Regions from separate parts of the Homo sapiens genome. Here region 1 is linked to region 2. The links are contacts of gene promoters, found by promoter capture Hi-C in blood cells and fetal thymus (Javierre and others, 2016). All regions are on one chromosome and are shown on one strand. Each heading gives the region's core, a stretch centred on a gene start or on the middle of the fragment in contact. The rest is flanking DNA. Distances are from core to core; before and after follow the strand shown.

Evidence for each region. Contacts are between HindIII fragments. The CHiCAGO score rates a contact against its expected background, and 5 or more counts as called.
Region 1: a contact is called between a fragment that was not itself captured here and the fragment with the promoter of SLC26A4 in region 2, in 1 of 17 cell types (total CD4 T cells). The highest score is 5.1, in total CD4 T cells.

The regions. Positions count from the first base shown.
Region 1 is chr7:107,224,827-107,227,786 of GRCh38, reverse strand. All of the region lies in intron 19 of COG5 (component of oligomeric golgi complex 5), which reads left to right. LOC124901721 (a long non-coding RNA gene) reads right to left here. Exons shown (of 3, transcript XR_007060472.1): 2 at 1,342-1,450. Among named protein-coding and RNA genes, the nearest start is that of HBP1, 57 kb to the right of the region's middle. The HindIII fragment of the contact is 172 bases long and covers 1,237-1,408 here.
Region 2 is chr7:107,659,257-107,662,146 of GRCh38, reverse strand. SLC26A4 (solute carrier family 26 member 4) reads right to left here and starts at 1,319. Exons shown (of 21, transcript NM_000441.2): 1 at 1,292-1,319; 2 at 342-508. The coding sequence starts at 505. It overlaps SLC26A4-AS1 (SLC26A4 antisense RNA 1), which reads left to right and starts at 349. Exons shown (of 2, transcript NR_028137.1): 1 at 349-545; 2 at 1,941-2,890. The HindIII fragment of the contact is 14,838 bases long and covers 1-2,890 here.

The sequences.
Region 1 (2,960 bases), core at 73-2,572, 430 kb after region 2:
CAGTGAGTCGAGATTGTGCCACTGCACTGCAGCCTTGGTGACAGACTGAGACCCTTTACCGCCCACCACCCACACCCCCCGCCCCAAAAAAAAATAGTGCTAAGTTTCCTGTTTGCTGAGGCAGGATGACCTTCATGTAAGCACTCTTAAAGTTGTGTCATAGTATGGAGATACAAGGTCTGAGGATAAGTTTCACTTAAGACATCTATTTTAAGCCATTTAAGATGGAAATTTTCTGCCAACCCTTTCCAATTCTCACATGAGAGAAAGAATCTCTAAAGGAACATTTAAAGTTTGGGTGACACCTTCTAATACCTATTTATAGAATCAAGAATCGCTTGATCAATGTATAATTTTAATAGTTCTACTTTTTTTTTTATATCTAGCTTCTTATGGCGTAACAGTTTTCAAACTTTTGACCATGACCCACAGTAAAAGATACTTTCTATTGATATTTGGCATATACTTGTATGCAAACACATGAACACACTCAAATCTATATACATATACATGGACACCCATATGTATGGTTCATGAAATAGTAAGTACCCTTACTTCATGTGATAACCTCTAACATTTCTATTTCATTTGATTATTTTAACCCACTAAATTAGTTTAATGACCCACTCATGGCCTGCATCCAGCCATTTCTCAGATTTCTCACGAGGCCCTTAACTCTTGAACTTTAGTTGCTCTAGTGACAGGGAGCCAAGTTTTTTCCTTTCCACAAACTGTGAAGATTTATACCCTTTTCTCTTGGGATTCTGGTATCTCTGAGGTTCCTCCTGCAGATGACGTCTTAGCTCCCAAGGCCTCAGGCACATAAGAATAATTGTTTCTTGCCTATGGAGTATCCTTCATAGCTTGAGTTAATTGAAAAATTCCAACAGAGGTATTTTTCTATATACCATTATATTTCTATATTTATATTGAATCTACAGAAATCTACTGAATTAATCCTAGTGCTTTCTCAGTTGTTTGATGGGACTGATACAACTATTTTATAAAAAGCGTAGGATTAGGATTAACTGGATCAAGAAATAAAACAGAAGTATAATATATTAAGGGGTTCAAATCCAGCCCTGGTCTACAAAGAATGTTTTCAGTCCTATCAGATGAGAAGAAGAGAGATGTGAGCATGTGCTGCGGCCTCTGCCCCGCACCATTGTTGGGAAAGCCCTGGCCCTGCCAGCTTCTTTGCAGTTGTCATGTAAAGAGAATTGACTTGAGAAAGCTTACCCATGTGGCGGGTCCTACCAAATTCCTTCCTAGAGAGGAGTAAATCAGTACAGAGCCATCTTTATTCTAATAACCTAATTATAGGCCCTCTGTTTTACCTACCTGCAAAATCTTGTTAGAGATCTGTCTCTTCTTTAAAATGAGTCCTGAGCAGTTGCAGTGAAAAGCTTACTCTTATTAATATGTGCACTTCTTCCATCTGTGCTGTGGGCTGTGACAAAGAATAGGCATCATCCAAGTTAGACCTTGGCACTTGTTCATGGGTCTCCTCACCAAAGACTCTCAATCAAACCAAAACCAGTTGAATGGTAGTCAGTAGGAGATTGCCTGAATAAAATATGCTAAATTCATAGGATCAAATATATGCAGACATTAACAGTAATATTATTAGTTAATATCTGGTAAAATGAAAAATACTCCCTAGTGCATCACTAGGTAAAACAGGTGACTAAGCAGTATATGGTATGACCTCTACTATTTTTTTTATTGTTTTTTTGTGTGTGTGTGATGATGTCTCGCTTTTGTCCCCCAGGTTGGAGTGCAATGGCATGATCATGGTTCACTGCAACCTCCGCTTCCCAGATTCAAGCGATTCTCCTGCATCAGCCTCCCGAATAGCTGGGATTACAGGCCCCTGCCACCATGCCCGGCAAATTTTTGTATTTTTAGTAGAGACGGGGTTTCACCACGTTGGCCAGGCTGGTCTCAAACTCCTGACCTCAGGTGATCTGCCTGCCTCGGCCTCCCAAAGTGTTGGGATTACAGGCAAGAGCCACCATGCCCAGCCGACCTCTACTATTTTTAAAATAATAGCATCTACTAGCCTCAGCAACATGGCAAAACTCTGTCTTTACAAAAGATAGAAAAATTAGCCAGGCATGGTGGTGCACATCTGTGGTCCCAGCTACTCGGTAGGCTAAGGTGGGAGGACCTGAGCTCAGGGAGGTCAAGGATGCAGTGAGCTGTGATTGGGTCATTGCACTCCAGCCTGGGTGACAGAGTGAGACCCTGTCCCAAAATATAAAATAAATGAATAAAAGTATTTGTTTGAATGGAGAATAAAAGACAAAAAGGAAAAACATGAAAATATCTTTGACTAAGATTGTCACTTGGGGTTTTTTTTAGGGTTTTTATTTTTTTTAAATTTTCTGCCTTATTTTATTTTTATAGTCAGAAAAGTCAAATACTATTTTTAAATCTCTCTTGCATTGTTTTTCCCATTTGAAAATAACCATGGAGCTAAAAAGTAATAAAAAAATGTACTAAAACATTACCCAATAAAGAGCAGGCGTGAGTTGACAAGAAAAACAGGCAGCCAAACAGCCAAAAGCCAGTAGGTTGCAATAGCCACAGAGGGCCTCAGTTCCAATTAGGGGCAGTGGCTGCAGGGGAGGGCAATGGGCTCAGTTCAGGGGTCCCTTCATAATGGAAGATGACAGTGCCAGCTGGAGTTTGAGTCCAGACCACACCCAGCATGTACACACATGCACACGCCCTCATACATACACACACACAGGCCTTAGTAGGTGCTCCCTTCCCCCATCATGCAGCCATCTGCCAGGGGGCACTTTCTTCTTGATGGTGATATTAGTGGACTATTTATGTAAGCCAGCAAGCTTCTTGCATATATTTACATTTTACTGTCTACATTATAGTTTCTCAGGCAGCGGGAATCTTTTCATACTCAGTAGAGAATGCTGCCTCTGAAAGCTTTTGACATT
Region 2 (2,890 bases), core at 70-2,569:
ACAAGCTCCCAAGAAGGCAACAGGGACCCACTGTACCCCAAGAGGCACTCCAAGTTTCCTTCAGAGAGGAAAAAGAGAGACGGGGCTCCTAGAACCCACTCTCCCCAAAGGCGAGTTTCCCAGGTAAGTTCATTTCGGGCCCGAGACTGATGGAGCCACCCTCCCACCAGAAGGGCGGCGTGGAGGACCGGAGACCGAAAGTCGGGCCTCTGGGAGAAGCAGCTGGCGCCCAGGGGCTCCGCCGCCCGCACCCCACTCTCGCCCGCTGGGGACGCCCTTCCCTCCCCAAGGCGTGGACGCCCCGCTCCGCTTCTCTCTACGCAGGCCCGCGCGGCCGCTACCTGCAGCACTTGGCCAGGCTCTCCCGCAGCGTCTTGCGCTCCTGCAGGCGCCGCTCGTGCTGTTGCTGGAAAGCGAGCTCGCTGTAGACCGGCCGCGACACCATGTAGCTGCAGCTGTACTCGGGGAGCTGCGGCGGCTCCGACCTGCCGCCTGGCGCTGCCATGACCTGCGAGCCAGAGGACAGCGAGGAGGGAGGACACGCGGTAAGCGAGGACGATCGGAGGGGAAGAGCGAGGAACAGAAAGAACGGGATCACCTGTTAGCTGCAGCCAGGCCCCCCTGCACCGCGAGTCTGGTCCGCGTCCTGCAGCCCTCGGCGCTCGCGACAAGCGCCCCACGGCGCGCACGGCCAGCCTGCAGGGGGGCACCTGAGAACCTTCGGGTCTCGTGGCCTGCACCCGCTGCCCGGGGTTCCCCAAACTTGAAGCGAGTAAGCCCCTGCTCTGGGGGCTTCCCGAGTTCCACCCAGTCCCCTATGGCCCGCAGCCAGGGCGCTGTCCGCGTTCTGAAATCTCCCCCAAACCGAGGGGCTGGGGCAGGGGCCAAAGGCGCTTGCAAGGCTGGAAGGGGACACTGAGATTCCCTCCCTCCCCGCACCTGACCCGGGACGCAGCTCCAGGTGCGCACTGGAGGAGAGGTGCAGACCCCCGGGCCAGGCGTGGAACCGTCAGGGCGCGCTCCGCGGGTCCCCAAGAGGCGGACGCTGCAGGCACATTCCAGCAGCTGTCGCAGCCCTCTCGGGGGCAGAACTTTCAGCTTATTGAGCAAGTCTCTCCCCTCGTCCTGTTTTCCGAGCAGCCTGTTCGCTCTCGGCGTCTCAGAAAGAAAGCTGTACTGCCCCCTGCCCACCTGATCCGTGACCACTTAAGAGTCCCATCCGCAACCCTCGAGGCCTCCCCGGGAGTGGAGCCCGGGCCGGGCGGTGTGGGCATCTTCAGGGCGAACTCACCTGTCTCTGCTCGCGCCCCGCCCGGAATGCCCCGCGGACTACCCTTCCGCTGCCTTTATAGCGCTCTCAGAAGGCAGTGGGACGTTTTATTTACGGAGCAACAGACACCTTGGTCGAAGGGAAAGACACACACAGGCTGCGGTCTTTCCCAACCGATCCTATCAGGAAAGAAATCCTACCCCTCCTGCATTCTTCCCCTTTCCCGAACCGGGAAGGCTGAGACTCTTACTGGCTGCCACGCAGGGGCCACCCGGATCCTCACTCATCCCGTTACTAATCTCAAGGGTTGCGAGGTCAGGGGCGGGCCAGGCCCTGTGGGACTCCTTAAAGAAGAGCAGAGCCCGCCTAGAGGAAGAGGTCCGTGGTCTCTGGGAGCCTGCCACAGGTGCTCTCATACCACATGGGGAGGAGAAGAGGAACAATGGCCAGGTTTCTATATTAATAAGTCCTTGAATTTCTAGAAAGTCTTTTAGGAGTATTCAATGGGTGGAGGATACAGAGAGTTCACGATTTACTCAGATTTTAGCCACTTATTCTACGTGTGCATGTGTGTGTGTTTTATTTCACAATCCAAATCAAGCCGTCCAGGTGGCCCTTTCTTACCCACTAGACTCTGTTTTTTCTTTTTCTCATTCTCCTGGACAATCAGGGAAGGAATAAACTGGACTACATGGAAATCAAGACTAGAAGAGAGGGAGGAGGAGCTGGAGCTATCCTACCTCATCAGTGTTTTGTCTTCTGTTGGGATGAACTTTGTTAAAACTAATGCATGGTTAAGATGAAAGGCAGAAGGAAGGGTTTGATAAACCAGAACATTCTCGCCTGATTGTTAGTGTTCTGAAGTAAATACAGAAGAGGCTCCAAAATACAGACCTCTGTACATCAACCTTCCGTAATCCACCTGCCTTGCATATGCAGACCATGACAATTCTACGAGCTCCTGGAAACAGAACTCAGAACTCCTCCCCAGAGAACCCTGATGCAAATTCTCTGAAATGGTAGTCAGCATGTGCGTTTTCCTGAGAAGTGAATGAGTCAACAGCTTTCAACAGATCTTCAAAGGCTTACTTCACCCAATGAAGTTAAGAACCACTAAAGAAGAAACCTAAAAGGAAAATCCAGGTCATGAACTTTGCAATTTTTATTCACATACAGAGAAGAGGGGAGGAATCTCTTGTGTATGTTTTACTTATGTATACCACTGGTTCTTAATAAAGGGCTTTTTTTGCCTCCAGAGGTCAATGCCTGGAGACATTTTTGGTTGTCACACCTAGGGAGATGCTATTGGGATCTAGTGAGTAGAGACCAGAGATGCTGCTAAACATCCTACAATGAAGTTTGCTATCACTCCAAGGTTTTGCATGCGACTTAAACTGTACATTTATTAATCAATTGCTACATGTACTAAAATATGTATCTCTCTCCATATATGTATATATGCGTGTATTTTTTCATTATTGTTGGATGTATAGCTCAACTCCACTACAACAGAGGAAAGTATTTGTTTTAAAGTAGAATCTGAATATACTCACTCTGTATACCCTCATCCATACCTTCAAGATCTGGTGAAAACACTATCTCTTGCAAGAACATTCTTTG